Linked DNA regions of Homo sapiens: region 2 is linked to region 1. Evidence: promoter capture Hi-C in human tissues and cell types (Jung and others, 2019). All regions are on one chromosome and are shown on one strand. Each heading gives the region's core, a stretch centred on a gene start or on the middle of the fragment in contact. The rest is flanking DNA. Distances are from core to core; before and after follow the strand shown.

Region 1 (6,953 bases), core at 3,219-5,718:
GCCACCTCCCAGAGGACCGGAGGCCCTGATGCCCCAAGAATTGGGCTTGGAAAGATGTTAATATCCACTGCCCCAAGTGCCAAGGTTCAGAGGCACTGGTCCAGGACACACAGCAGCGGGGAAGTGGAACCCTCACTCCAGCCTGCAGTCTGGGCTCTGTCACTGTGCTGTCTCTCCATCCTTCCCTCCCCACAACCAGGGCTGTAGGCCCACCTAACACACCACACACTTCCCAGAAACAGGAGTCACATCCTTTTCAGGGCTGGTAGGGTGGCTGAAGATGGCCCAAAACCTCCTGAATGGAAAAACCTTGATGGGGAGACTGAGGGCCAAGGCAGAGGTTTGTCCAAGGTCACCCCCAGAGTGGCGGATCCAGGACCCTGGGCAAGATCTTCCTACTGTCCAGGCCTCTCCCCCACCTCTCTTGTGTGGCCCAGCACCCTGGACTCCTCCATGCCCAGGTGTGCTCCCCCCAGGCACGCTGGGGGCAGGGTGGGCAGCAGGTGCCCCCCACCAGGATAGTGGTTCTTCCTCCTGCAGACCTTCAGCCCTCTGCTCCTGGCAGGACACTGTGGCCCTCCTGCCCACGTTGGTGCGGGTTGAATTTGACGGCCCAGCAGAATTCCCAGGCAGGGCAGCCTGGCTATCCTCCCTGGTGTCTCGGCTCTGAGAGCGGAGACCCAGCCTCCCAGCCTGGAGTTGTGGTGAATTCGCAAACAAGTCTCCATCTCCAGAACCTTCCTGAAGAAAACAGCTCTCCAGGCTGGGGCAAGAAGCCTGTCCCTACAGTGATACAACCACCCCTCAATAACCCCGGGCACCACCTGGCACCCACTGGGGGCCACCAGGGAGCCCACCAAGCCCACTCCGGGCTTGGACAGAGGGCAGGCCTGGAGGAAGGCACATCCAACCCCACTGACCGGCATGCACCTGGGGCCAGGGGCCTGCTGCCACTGCAGAGGTGAGAAGCAGGAGCAGCAAGACCTGGTGCCCATTAGTCATGGGGGAAAAGCAAAAGGGGGAGACAGGGACAAATCCAGGCCTGGGTGGGCTGCCTGTCAGGGGGAGTGATATCCAAGGAGGAACTGGTGGTCAGAGTGGGGTGGGGGATACCCGGTACAATTTGTTCATGCCTCAACACCAGCCACCGCGGGCCTGCCAGCCCTGTGTGCCCTCCCTGGCCCGGAGTCCACAGGGTGCAAAAGGCTGACCGCACAGGACCTCCCGTGAGAACCCTACGCTGCAGAGCTCGTTCTCTTGGCTTCCAGGCCTTTTTATACGCTGTCCTGCTGCTTGGACATGCCAGTCCCCACCCCTGCACCTACCGAGCTCCTGCGGCACTCAGCTGTCACCCATCTGGGACGCACACCTGTCCGAGGCTCTAGATCAAGGTGGGAGGTTAGTCCTCACTCCCTTCAGGGGCTGGACAGCGAGCTGAAGGCCCGAGCCCAGCTGCACCCAGAAAACCTGCCACTTGGAACTCACCTGACCATCCAAGCCCAGCCCCCAGTGCATGCGACAGATGAGGCAGAGATTGTGCCGTACAGAGATCAATATATATAAAGTGCCGGTACAACGCTCTGAAAAATAGTTTTGTCCCAAAATCCAGCGCCTAGGGTGCTCCGGGCCTAGCCTTTGCCAGTGAGGTCCAACGGCTGCAGGAATGGGGGCAGCGGCAGCTCGTCCAGGGCCTCGGGGAAGCGGCCTGGAGAGATGGCGGTGACCAGCACCTGCATGGCGCGCGCGAAGAGCGAGGGCGGCGCCAGGCCCGCCAGCCACTGGAACTTGTCCTCACCCAGCAGCCGCTGCCAGCGCGGCCGGTCGCCCAGCAGCTCCTGGCGGGCCGAGCCGGCGGCACCCACGGGGGTGTACAGCGCCAGGAGGTCCAGCAGCAGCAGGCGGCGCTGGCGCGGCTCCCCGGGAGCTGAGGCGGGGGCTCCGGCGGCGGAGGGAGTGGCCCCGGCGTCGCGGCCCAGCTGGCGCAGCAGCAGCTCGAGAGGCGTGAGGCCGCCGCCGTCCCGCAGACCGGGCGAGGCGCCGTGGCCCAGCAGCAGGAAGAGGCACTCGGGGCGCGCCAGCTCACAGGCCACGTGCAGCGACGTGCCACCGCCCTCCACGCGGCTGCAGCCACGCCGGTCCAGCACGCGCGCCCGCTCCTCGGCCGGGAAGTCGCGCAAGGTGCGCAGGATGCGGCGCAGAATGCCCACGCGGTTGTAGCGCACTGCCAGCGCCACGTGCGGCCCGGGAGCCGCGCAGCAGCGGAAGCCGGCACTGGGCGGTGCGAGCGCGCGCCGCGGGAACGTGGCCAGCAGGTAATGCGCGTACGCTTGGTGGTCGTGCACGAGCGCGTAGAGCAGCGCCTCAGAGGGCGAGTAGGCGGCGGCGCGCCCGCGCTCGTCCCAGTGGAAGGCCTCGCTGGCGCGCATATCCTCCAGCAGCCACACGGGTAGCAGGTCGCGCACCGCCTGGTAGAAGGCGAACGACGACTTGCGGCACTGCTTCTGCGCTCGCGAGCGCGCCGCGCCCGAGGCCTCGGGCCCGCCGTCCGCGCCACCCCCAGGCCGCCGCGCGTCCCACGGCATGCTGGCGGCGGGGCGTTCCTGGGCCTCAAGGCATGGATCCCGCGAAGGCACACCTGCGGGGAAAGGAAGAGGCCACGGTGAGGCGCGGGGAAACTGGGGAGGCCCGGGGACTCCCCTCTGCCCCTCACACAGCCCCTCCGGTCCTGGCCCACCAGGCCTGTACCTACCTCCAGCCTCGGCCAGGCCCTTCCAGTCACCCTACAGCTCCATCTCTCCGACGCCCAGAACCACCGCCTCCATCCTTGATCTAGCTGTACCTGTTCTCCCTCCTTGAAACTGACTTGCTCTCTGGCACCTCTGCTGGAAATGCCCTTGCTGCCCATGCCCTCAAATCTCCCCTCCCCTCTCCAACCCAGGGACCCACTGGAAGAGCTTCTGTTCCCACCTAAGCCAGGTTCATACGACCCCAAATAAAGAAAAGGCCAGGGAGGGGATGAGAAAGCTTGGGCCCACATCTCAAGCTGAGGCAAATCCACTCTCCAGCCCAAGCGCAACCCTGACCCTGATCTCCGACCCCAGACCACTTGGAGGCCCCTGGAGCCTCTTCCTGGGCTGTTCAGAGGCATGATCCAGACTCAGACCTACCTGGTTCCTGCACCGCGATCACCTAGTTCCGGGGATGTGGGTATATCACAGTCCCTGGCCGAGCCTCAGCTTTATCTGTAAGAAAGGGGAGGGGTGGACGACGGCTGTGCGGGCGGGGTGAGCCTGGGGCGTGGCACCAGCCCTCTATCCAAACATGTTTGCTTACACGTTAGCTCCTGGGAGGAGATAGGAGGGTGAAAACAACCTGGAGACCGGTGTGCACCGCACTGCACAGTCTGCCATCCTCTTCAGGTCCCATACCTCTCTTGATCTCCCCGACTACTAGATGAAGCGGGTACTGCCATCCCACTTTCCAGCAGGGCACAAGCTTCTCCAATTCTCCAAGGTCAGCAAGCCACGGCAGAGCCAGGCCTAGAACTCAGGTCCCCTGCGTCTCAGTTTGGGCTCATTCCAGAATTGGTGGGGACCCCCAACCCACAGGCAATCGAGCTTAGGCCCTGACCCTGCCCTCTGAGTCCCCAGCCCCGACCTGAGCCTAGGCGTCTGACCTCTGGCTCCGTCCCAACCTCCCTACTGCCTTCTTTCAAGGGTAAGCCCTTGGTCACAAGGGGCCTGGGACAGAAGGCAGGCCGCGTCCACACACACTGACTGGGTCACTATCACTGGCAGTAACTGAGTTAAAGAGAGCGGCGCGGTGCGGGTAGGCTGTGGCCCGTGGGCAACACCGTGACTGGAGCCCCTTCCCCAAGCCTGGGCCTCCGGGCCCCAGATATGCCCTGTGCCGGCACGCGTGGGGCGCCGGGCGGGTTACGTAAAGTTCGGCCTCCCCACGTCACCGGGCAGAGTCACGGCCGCGGCTCGTGAATAAGGGGGTTGGGCCATCGAAGGCAGCGCCGCGCCCGGGGCCACCCGCCACCTCCTACCCGTCCCCTCCCGGCCTGCACGGCCAGACGTCGGGCGGCGGAGGGTCGCGGGGCCGAGCGGGGCGTCCGCGCGCAGGTGGCCGGCGCAGCGAGGGCTGCACCTGCGTGCGCGTGTGCCGGAGGAGGAGGGGGCGGCGGCCGCGGGCGCGGCGCGGGGGACGGGGACTCACCATGGGGGGCGCGGGGGCCACAGGCCGGGCGTCCCCGCCCCTGCCGCGGACCGGAGCGCGCGCTGTCCCCCGCGGGCGAGCGGGCAAAGGTCCCACGACGGACGCACGGGAGGGAGCCACCGCCGCCCGCGCCCGCCGCAGCCGCGCTCTGAGCCGCCGCGGCCGGATCGCAGGGCGGCGGTGCCGTCGCCGGCGGCGGGCGGCGGGCGGCGGGCGGCGGGCGGCGCAGTGCGGCCCCGGCCAGGCAGGACAGCGGGACCGTCCGCCGCCGCCATTGGCCCGCGCCGCCGGCCCCCGCCACCACCCATTGGCCGCCGCGCTGCACCATTGTTACGTCACTGGCCGGCGGGCGGGGCGCACCGCTGGACCCGCGGAAAACTTCGGAGAAACTTGAGGGAGCGCCGGCGGGGAGAACGGAGAGGAGGGGCGGGGCCGTGGCGAAAGGGGCGGGGCGTTGATGGGCGGGGGCGGGGCTCCCGGAACCCGAGCTGCGGGCGAAGAAAGGCTCCGAGCTCCGAGCTGCCCTAGCCCGGGAGGGCGCCGCTGCTCTGCGAACTCGGGCGCGCGCGTAGGTGGCCCGCCCTCCGCCGTGCGTGACTTTCCTCGTCGCGTCCAGCTCCCCTTTTCTTTGACCTTACGTGACCTTGGGAAAAACCTCCAGGCTGCTACCCCATCTGCACATGGGAGGGCCGGGGGTAGGAGCCGCGACCCCTAAGGGCTCCACCGCCTTCTGCCCGGCCAGGGTCGTGCCTGGCGCGCCCCCGCTCCAGCTGACCCGCGCAAGGGAGGGAGGGGCGGACGGATGGGGACAGCTGTTTAGGAGCGCGCACTGCGCCCATCTCGGCCTCAACACTCATGTTTCCACTTCGTTTCACGACCACCAGCCACAGTGGACACGATGATCCCCAGTTCACCCGCCAGCAAATCAGGGCTCAGAGAGGTGGCCTCAAAGAGAGGAGCGGCCAGGAGGGAAGCCGGGGGTTTGCCCTGCGGTTCTTCCCACATCTGGGCGGGATAGATTCGATTGGGCCTCGGCCACCCCCACCGTCTCCGTCGGGGGTTCCAAGGTTTGGGGTCATGACCTAGGGGGCTTAGGAGCCTGGGTCCATCTCAACTAATTTATGGCCTCACTCGCCCCCAGCGGCTGGGAATTCTAGGCCCATTTTACAGATGTGGACGCAGATCTGGAGAGGGGCAATGACTGCTCAACCCCCCACCCATCCTCCCAGACACGACCTTCCACCTGGAATCCCCCCACACACGTTCTCAGAGGCCAGGCAGCCGGGGTCTCATGGTGAAATCCCCACATTCCATGCAGGGGCTCTTTCTGGTTCCTTCCCTAGAATGCTGTCCCTGCCCTTCCAGTACTATCTCACCAGGGAGACCCTCCCACTCCCCCACTCCGCTCCAACCAAGCAAGGCCTCTGCCTCGCCCCGGTGGGAGGGGCCTCGTCCAGAGGGCACGCCCCTGCACACACAATCAGCCCTGTCCTGGCTTCTCTGTGTGCCCCAGCCAGTCAGTCTGGGTGGAAGTCTTACCTGGGCCCTCTCAACAGACCTAGGCAGGCCTCTGTCCCCAGCCCAACGAGCTCAATCCCTTAAGCACACACGCCACAGAGCAGTCCTGAGAGGCCAGGTGGACAGTACCATGAGGCAGACAAAGCTGTGAGGCCCAGAGAGGGTCAGGCCACCCCAGCCCAGGTAGGCACTCACATGTATCCTGCCCAGGCTGCCATGCATGGACCCACCAGGGGGATGACCAGACCCCACCAGCCCTGCCCCACCTCAGGGCGGGGGACGTTCCAGGCCACGCCATCTCTCCCAGGGAGTCCATGGCAACTGCCAAGCTTACAGCAGCCAGGTTGTCAGCAGGAGTAGGGGTATAGAGGGCACTGGGCCTGGCATCCGCACCCGCCTTTGCCTCAGCTCCACATGTCTCCTCCTGTATCTAGGCCTATCTCCCTAGGGCTTCTCCCATCTGCCGGTTCTGGATGCCTCTGAGTACGATGGTGGGGAGAGCAAAGTGAGTGAAGGTCCTGGAGTCAACAATCGGCCTTTGGGAGCCCAAACCCTGGGGGACATCTTGGGGAGATGGTGCCCATGTGGGCTGTCTGTGGCTCAAGGCTCCCCTGCTCTCTTGCCCTCTTCGAAGGCTGGAGTTGAGATACAGCCGTCTCCATGGCTACTGGTGGAATGAGGGTGAAAGGGCACCAGTGGATGCCAGGCTGTGCACTGGGCCTCAGGGCGGGTCTCTCTCCACCCCTTGATGTCTTCCCTGCCCCCGTGCCCTGACCTGCCCTCCTCACTGGGGATCCCAGAGGGTTTTTTTTTTTCCCAAGACAAAGTCTCATTCTGTCACCCAGACTGGAGTGCAGTGGTGCAATCTCAGCTCCCTGCAACCTCCACTTCCCAGGTTCAAGCAATTGTCATGCTGCAGCCTCCCAAGTAGCTGCAATTACAGGCATGCACCAGCACTCACAGCTAGTTTTTGTATTTTTAGTAGAGACGGGGTTTTGCCATGTTGGCCAGGCTGGTCTCGAACTCTTGGCCTCAAGTGATCTGCCTGCCCCAGAGACCTTTTTCTAAAAGCCAAGTCTGACCCTGTTTCTCTGCTGCCTAGAAGCTTCCTGTGGACATGGACATAGCCACAAAGTCCAGATGGGCAGAAAGAGGCATTTCTGGCAGAGGGCAAAGCAGGGGCCAAGGTCTGGAGTGTGACACAAAGGCTGCAG
Region 2 (7,738 bases), core at 4,660-7,159, 1.1 Mb after region 1:
TGAGTAGCTGAGACTATAAGGGTGCATCACCATGCCTGGATAATTAAAAAAAATTTTTTTTGTAGAGTCAGGGTCTTACTATGTTGCCCAGGTTGTCCATGCCTTTTAACCCCAGGCAGTACCTTAGGAGCCCAACCTAGGAGCTGCTAACGGCTCCAAGGACTGCAGGATCTCCTGAGGATCATGGCAGAAGTCAGGGACTTAAGGGACCCGAAGAGTCTGCTCCCCTTGAAAAGGGAGCAAGAGCAGCATCTCTGTGCAAAGGAAGCCTGGAGAAGCAGCAGCCCAGCCCTCCTCTCATGCTTGCTTGAGGGTTGCCCTTGCAGCTGCGTCAGGTGCTGAGCAGGCTGTGGGGAAGAGGACACCAGCCCCTCCTGTTCTCTGCTTACAGGCTGAGGAGAAGGCAGCTGTGTAAGCTGACCACATACTACACATTGGGGAAGGGACAGGTGGGTGGTCAGAGGAGGCCTTGACCCAGGCAGGTGCTGTCAGAAGCGGCTTCCCCCAGGAAGTGACGATCATTTGAATCCTGGAGCACTGGGGGGAATGGGGGAGGGAGAACATTCTAGGCACAGTGAATACTATGTACAGGGGCATGGCTATGTGAGAGACCAGGGTGAACTCAGGAACAGATAAGGGTGTTCAGAGCACAGGAGACCAGGAGGTTGGCAGCACCAGGCCCTGGGGGCCTTGTTGACCAACCCAAGGAATTTGAAGTTGCTGCAGACAGTGATGCGTGGCAGCACTGGTGGATGAATTGGCCTTTTCTCCTTTCCCCCAACACTCCAGGGTCATTCCTGCCTGAGGACTCCTGCCCTCAGAGCTCTCCTGGGGCTTTTATTTATTTTGTTTTGAGACAGAATGTGGCTCTGTTGCCCAGGCTTGAGTGCAGTGGTGTGATCTTGGCTCACTGCAACCTCTGCCTCCCAGGTTCAAGCGATTCTCCTGCCTCAGCCTCCCGAGTAGCTGGGACTACAGACGTGCGCCACCACGCCTGGCTAATTTGTTGTATTTTAGCAGAGATGTGGTTTCACTGTGTTGCCCAGGTTGGTCTTGAACTCCTGAAGGCAATCCACCTGCCTCGGCCTCCTGAAGTGTTGGGATTACAGGCGTGAGCCACCTCGCCGGCCTCTCCTGGGGCTTTGAACGCCTGCCTCCCTCCTCTCATTTGGGTCTCAGGTCACCCGCCTGCCTCTGAGTTCACCCCTGACCACCTAGACTCTGCCTGTTCCATCATCTTTGTTCCATCTCTGCCTGTTCCATCATCTCGGCAAGATCCGGTATTTCCTTATGTGTTTATGGCCTACTTCTCCTCACTGGAATGTAAACTCTTAGAAAGCAGAGATCTTATCTATCTTGTTCACCTATGCATCCTTGGCTGTTATGAGGATCATGGGAGAGCAACAAATATTTATTGAGGAAATAAAAGAACAAGGTAATAAAGCCAGAACAAAGTGGTGGCAGTGGAGATGGATTCAAGAAATACTGAGAGGCCGGGCATGGTGGCTCACACCTGTAATCTCAGCACTTTGGGAGGCCAGCTGGGAGGATCACTTGTGGCCAGGAGTTCGAGATCAGTCTGGGCAACATAGCAAGATCTCCTCTCTGCAAAAAATTTAAAAAACATTAGCTGGGAGTGGTGGTGCACACCTGTAGTCCCTAGCTACTTGGGAGGCTGAGGCAAGAGGATCTCTTGAGCCCAGGAGTTCGAGGTTACGGTGAGCTGATTGCCACTGCCCTCCAGTCAGGGTGACAAAGATACCCTAACTCAAAGAAATATTGAGGAAGTAGAATCTTTTCCACCTGTTGTAGTAGGGCGTAAGGGAGCGGTGCAGGCATCCCAGGTTTCTGGCTAGGGTTGTGGGTGAGCAGAGGGGACAGTTACTGGGCGCAGCGGCACAGAAAGAATGAGCAGTCGATGCTTGGCGGTGCCCAGCCCAGTGGCTGAACTTAGTGACATCCAAGCTGCAGTCTGGCTGAAATCACTAACCTGAAAGTGGTATGGAGAAAGTTTGTTTGACCCTGACTCAGTGCCTCTCCCCGGGCCAACCCTACCGTGTTACCTAGGAGCTCCCCCTTTGTCTTTATAAATGAGATAAAAGTAACCAGACCTCCCTGGAAAAACCGAGGAGCACTTGCTTCTCTGGTGACTGCGGGGCCTAACTGCAGGGTTCACAAAGGGCTGCTGGTGCTGGGTGATAACATCGGAAAGGAACAGCAGTTCACAAGATGGGGCTGGGGGACTGGCCCAGGAACCCCTCCAGGTTAAATGATGCCTCCGGGCCCCGCACTTGGGACGTCTGCAGGCACTGGGAGGGTTTTTCCCAAGCCGCTGGCAGCAGCGAGCGGAGCCTCGCCCATTGAATCAGCATGCCCTCCCGGCTGGCTGCTGAGTCAGGCCTGCGGAGCCGGCGAAGCCGCAGGACTTGACCCAGGCGCGCTCCGCTGCCCTTCAGGCCGGGCTGGAGGTCGAGGCCCTGCAGCCAGGGAGATGCGCCGGTGGCTGCGTGGGGACAGAGGGGGGTTGTCTCCCACCCTCACAGTCTACACCCCGGCCCTTCCCCTTTGCCCGTCTGAGGCGCAGTTTGTGTCGAGGGGGAGCGCCTGGAAAGTTTCCTCGTACAGATACGAGGGTCCAAAAGCCCCGAGGAGAGGGAATAATGAGAAGGGGAGGGCGCAGGGTTAGAGGTCAGGGTCTCGACCAAAGGCTGTCGGTTTTCCTGGAGGAGGGAGAAAGGCCTGGCCGGGATCATCTGATTCCGGGGCCTCCCGAAGGCCTCCTAGCTGGGTTTTGGGGGGACCGAAACGAGCGCATGAAGCTCGCGGGCCTGGGAGTGGGGTGGGGCGGGAGCCCAGTGGTGGCGGCTGCGGCCGGGCCTGCACCGTCCCCGGCCGCATTCTGGTAGGGCCCACAGTCCGGCTGGAAGGGAAGCTGCCGAAGCGCTCGGTCATCGCGGCTGCGGAGTCGGAGAGGCCAGGGCCTGGCCGCCCACCCCGCGAGCCGCGCCCTGCCCCGAGCGCCCCACCCCCGTCCGCGTTACAACCGGGAGGCCCGCTGGGTCCTGCACCGTCACCCTCCTCCCTGTGACCGCCCACCTGATACCCAAACAACTTTCTCGCCCCTCCAGTCCCCAGCTCGCCGAGCGCTTGCGGGGAGCCACCCAGCCTCAGTTTCCCCAGCCCCGGGCGGGGCGAGGGGCGATGACGTCATGCCGGCGCGCGGCATTGTGGGGCGGGGCGAGGCGGGGCGCCGGGGGGAGCAACACTGAGACGCCATTTTCGGCGGCGGGAGCGGCGCAGGCGGCCGAGCGGGACTGGCTGGGTCGGCTGGGCTGCTGGTGCGAGGAGCCGCGGGGCTGTGCTCGGCGGCCAAGGGGACAGCGCGTGGGTGGCCGAGGATGCTGCGGGGCGGTAGCTCCGGCGCCCCTAGCTGGTGACTGCTGCGCCGTGCCTCACACAGCCGAGGCGGGCTCGGCGCACAGTCGCTGCTCCGCGCGCGCGCCCGGCGGCGCTCCAGGTGCTGACAGCGCGAGAGAGCGCGGCCCTCAGGAGCAAGGCGGTGAGTCCCCGGCGTGCGCCCCGGACCGCGGCCCCCTCCTCATCCTCCGCCCCGTCCCTGTCCCGCTCCTCTTCGGACCCGCCCCGGCCGTAACTCTGTCCCCATCCAGGCCTCCTTCCCGGTTTGGGTCCCGGCCCCTCTCCGTTCCCACCCCGGTACCCGCCCCAGTTCACCGCCCCGGCCGGTCCGCGACCCCTTCCAGGTTCAGGTCGGGTTCTTGTCCCCGGCCCTTTTGCCAGCCCCGGCTCCCGGCGCCGCGCGTCCTCCCCATCCGCGTCCCACTGCAGGTTCCGGTCCCCGGCCCTGCCCAGGGCCCCGCCCTGGCCCCGCATCCCCGGCTTGGCCCTGCTGCGGGCGGCGGCGGCCGTTCCCGGGGACAGCTGTGGACCCCGGGAACCCGCGACAGGGGAGGTGGCTGACCCCGGGATCGCGGCGGGCGGGGAGGCCGGAGGCCCGGCGGGGCTGGCTTTGTCCGATTCCTCCTCTTCCTTCCACCCCCGCCTCTCCCGGCACCGCCCTGAGCGGACGCGCCTGTCATTCTCGCGGGCGGCGGGGGGCCGGGTCCCTCCCGAGAGCTGGCTCCGCTTTGCCTCCTTGGCGACCCCTTATTTTCAGTAACCAGATGCGAAACGTTTCAGGCGACCCTGTTCACCTAGGCTGGCGTTGCTCCAACTAAACTTGAAGCAGCCTCCGTCCTGGAATGCTTTTTCCATGTAAAATTGGGTGTACCCTTTTCCTTAAGAAAATTAAAATAAAGCGTAAAAGTAGTGAAATTAATGCGTGATGGAGTGGATGGTTTTATAACTTAACATTTGTAGGTCATTTCTAGGTATATTTGTATTAGAATTGTTGCTGCCTGTTACTGTTTTATTATTTAAATGAATTAAGAATTTACATATTAAGCGTTTGAAAAGGAATACTTACAAAAATGATGTTTTTTAAAAATGTGAGAACAAAAAATTTGAGATATACTATTTCAGGTGTTCTGTAAAAGGGCAGTTAGAGCTTTGATTCTTTGCATTAGTTAAATCCCAAGGCCTTTTTTTTTGGTACGGCATGACTAAGCCATTGATCAGAATCAGCTCGGAATACATTGCACTAGTTTAGTGAAAGACACTTTAGAAAACTGGAAGAACCTCCTGAAGTTATATTACAGACATGGCCTTGCTTCTTTCAGGGATTGTCAGCAAGCCTGTTATGGTGAGAAATTTGACCTATTGCTCTGTTTCCTAAATATTTGTAGGAATACAATGATACTAAGTATGAAGTATATTTCAACTTGTATGGAATTCTGTGTGGGAGGGTAGGCACTCTAAAGAGCCAGTGTCTCTCCAAGTCATCAAAGAATGCAGCATCATGTTGCAGTTGAGCCTGGCAGCCCTGTCTGGCACTGAGTGCTGTGGAGGACCCAGGTGGTAACCTCTAACCCTACTGCAGCCTTGGCATTGTCTTAGAGAAAAGCATCCAGACATGCACAGGACTCTGGACAGCGTTTATCTCCAGCAAGGGGGGAGGGAATGACACTGGGGAGAGGCACACAGTATCTTCAGTATTTCATAGCAAATAACTGCAGTCGTTTAAACTTACACATTTTTTTTTTTTTTGAGATGGAGTCTCGCTCTGTCGCCCGGGCTGGAGTGTAGTGGCGCGATCTCGGCTCACTGCAAGCTCCGCCTCCCGGGTTCACGCCATTCTCCTGCCTCAACCTACTGAGTAGCTGGGACCACAGGCGCCCGCCACCACGCCCGGTTAATTTTTTGTATTTTTAGTAGAGATGGGGTTTCAACATGTTAGCCAGGTTGGTCTTGATCTCCTGACCTCGTGATCCGCCCACCTCGGCCTCCCAAAGTGCTGGGATTACAGGCGTGAGCCACCGCACCTGGCCCAAATTTATACATTTTTAAAATTTATACATTCTTAGGCATGTTTCTCAATGTTGGAAAAAAGTCAATGTGTAACTTTCTGTATAGGGCCATAAATTATCTTAAAACATACTTGTATAAAAAGAAACCTAGGATAGAAAAATCAAAAGTTGAGTGAAATGTATGATTAGTATCACCTGAAAACATTCTTTGTAGATAAGTGGAATGTTAGAAACCAGTATTTTATTTTTATTTATTTAGAGATGAGTCTCACTGTGTGGCTCAGGCTAGAGTGCAGTGGTGTGATCCCCGCTCACTGCAACCTCCGCCTCCCAGGTTCCAGTGATTCTCCTGCCTCAGCCTCCCTAGTAGCTGGGATTACAGGTGCCCACTACCACACCAGGCTGATTTTTTGTATTTTTAGTAGAGACGGGGCTTCACCATGTTGGCCAGGCTGGTCTCAAACTGCTGACCTCAGGCGATCCACCCGCCTCAGCCTCCCAAAGTGCTAGGGTTACAGGTGTGAGCCATTGCACCTGGGCTGAAACCAGTATTTTATGTAGCAAAGAAATGATCAGTAATATACTCAAGACGAGAGTATTTGGGAAGATTTAAGTGTCAAATTTCAGGGCATAGAATAAAAGTGACAAGCACATTAAGATTGCAAATACTGGTCTTAAATGTCTGTTGGGAACCAACTGAATGGCAGGTACTGTGCTGAGTAGTCAGCGATACCTTGATAAAAGAGCCACTGTTGGCCGGGCGTGGTCATGCCTGTAATCTTAACTCTTTGGGAGGCTGAGGCTGCAGATCGCCCCTAGCTCTTTGGGAGGCCGAGGCAGGTGGATCACCTGAGGTCAGGAGTTTAAGACCAGCCTGGCCAACATGGTGAAACCCCGTCCCTACCAAAAATACAAAAATTAGCCAGGTGTGGTGGTGCACACCTGTAATTCCAGCTACTCATGAGGCTGAGGAAGGAGAATCGCTTGAACCGGGAAGTGGAGGTTGTAGTGAGCCGAGATCACGTCACTGCAGTCCAGCCAGACTCCGTCTCAAAACAAACAAAAAGAGCCGCTGTCAGCCGTGCAGTGGCTCACTCCTGTAATCCCAGCACTTTGGGAGGCCAAGATGGACCGATCACCTGAGGTCAGGAGTTTGAGACCCGCCTGGACAACATGGTGAAACCCTGTCTCTACTAAAAATACAAAAAAAACCAAAACCGGGTGTGGTGGCGGGTGCCTCTAATCGCAGCTACTCAGAAGGCTGAGGCTGGAGAATCGCTTGAACTGGGGAGGCAGAGGTTGCAGTGAGCCGAGATCACGCCATTGCACTCCAGCCTGGGCAACAAGAGCAAAACTCTGCCTCAAAAAAAATAAAACCAAAAAACAAAAAAACTCTGTCCTCTAGGAGCTCACAGGCTGGCATGGGCAGGTACCACAGACCAGGTTAAAGGCTGTGGAGTGCACTGAGGAGGCGATTCTTCACAAAAGAAAAGTACCAATCAGCCAGTGTCAGGGGGTCAGGGGTGGGATTGGGATTGGGGTTCCTGCTTGGAGGAAATAAATCCTGAGGTTGTGCTGCTGTAAAGGGGCATGTTGGGAAGGGGACATGGGAGTGAGTGTGGAAAGACGAGGTTAGGAAAGGCCTTGAATGACTTCTTAGAAGTCTGCTTTCATTCTGAGGTTTACAAAGGAGGGTTGGAAGATTTTTTTTTTTTTTGAGATGGAGTCTTGCTCTGTCACCCAGGCTGGAACGCAGTGGCACGACCTCTGCTCACTGCAGCCTCTACCTCCCAGGTTCAAGTGATTCTCCTGCCTCAGCCTCCCGAGTAGCTGGGACTACAGGTGCGTGCCACCACATCCGGCTAATTTTTTGTATTTTTAGTAGAGTCGGGGTTTCACCACGTTAGCCAGGATGGTCTCCATCTCCTGACCTCGTGATCCGCCCGCCTTGGCCTCTCAAAGTGCTGGGATTACAGGCGTGAGCCACCGCGCCTGGCCGGAGGGTTGGAAGATTCTGAGGAGCCAGTTGCCACTTTAGAAAGAGCATAGGCAGTGGTGGGGCAGGTGCTGTGAACTGGGATGAGGTTAATTAGGAAGCCATTAACCCCAACTCGGCAAGCCTCAGGATTAGGGCAGTGACAGAAGGAACAGAGAAGCTAGGTGGGGGCAGGGGCTGGGCTGTAAGGGTTATAGTGGAGCTGATTTGGGGCTGACTGGATTGGGGTAAATGAGGAGCTGCAGGGAGGACTCCCCAGAATGATCCTGTGAAAACCTGAGTCACTCCTCTGTTAAAGCTTTTGTCAGTGTCCTCTGAG

Evidence for each region. Contacts are between HindIII fragments. The study calls those that stand out against the background at their distance.
Region 2: a contact is called between a fragment that was not itself captured here and the fragment with the promoter of ANKRD9 in region 1, in 1 of the 25 tissues and cell types used here (dorsolateral prefrontal cortex).

What each region holds. Positions count from the first base shown.
Region 1 is chr14:102,505,308-102,512,260 of GRCh38, forward strand. It overlaps ANKRD9 (ankyrin repeat domain 9), which reads right to left and starts at 4,469. Exons shown (of 4, transcript NM_152326.4): 1 at 4,222-4,469; 2 at 3,334-3,539; 3 at 3,168-3,242; 4 at 1-2,635. The coding sequence starts at 2,582. The coding sequence ends at 1,629. LOC105370679 (a long non-coding RNA gene) reads left to right here and starts at 4,736. Exons shown (of 4, transcript XR_007064352.1): 1 at 4,736-6,244. RefSeq lists silencers at 3,257-3,418, 4,413-4,852, 5,013-5,062 and enhancers at 4,543-5,186, 5,187-5,832, 5,833-6,476. The HindIII fragment of the contact is 3,197 bases long and covers 3,260-6,456 here.
Region 2 is chr14:103,625,936-103,633,673 of GRCh38, forward strand. It overlaps KLC1 (kinesin light chain 1), which reads left to right and starts at 3,276. Exons shown (of 17, transcript NM_001394837.1): 1 at 3,276-3,559. LOC105370688 (a long non-coding RNA gene) reads right to left here and starts at 3,208. Exons shown (of 3, transcript XR_944248.2): 1 at 3,097-3,208; 2 at 1,804-1,990; 3 at 1,567-1,605. RefSeq lists silencers at 231-280, 2,844-3,043, 3,134-3,493, 3,544-3,663, 3,754-3,803 and 1 more and an enhancer at 2,314-2,403. The HindIII fragment of the contact is 5,866 bases long and covers 2,977-7,738 here.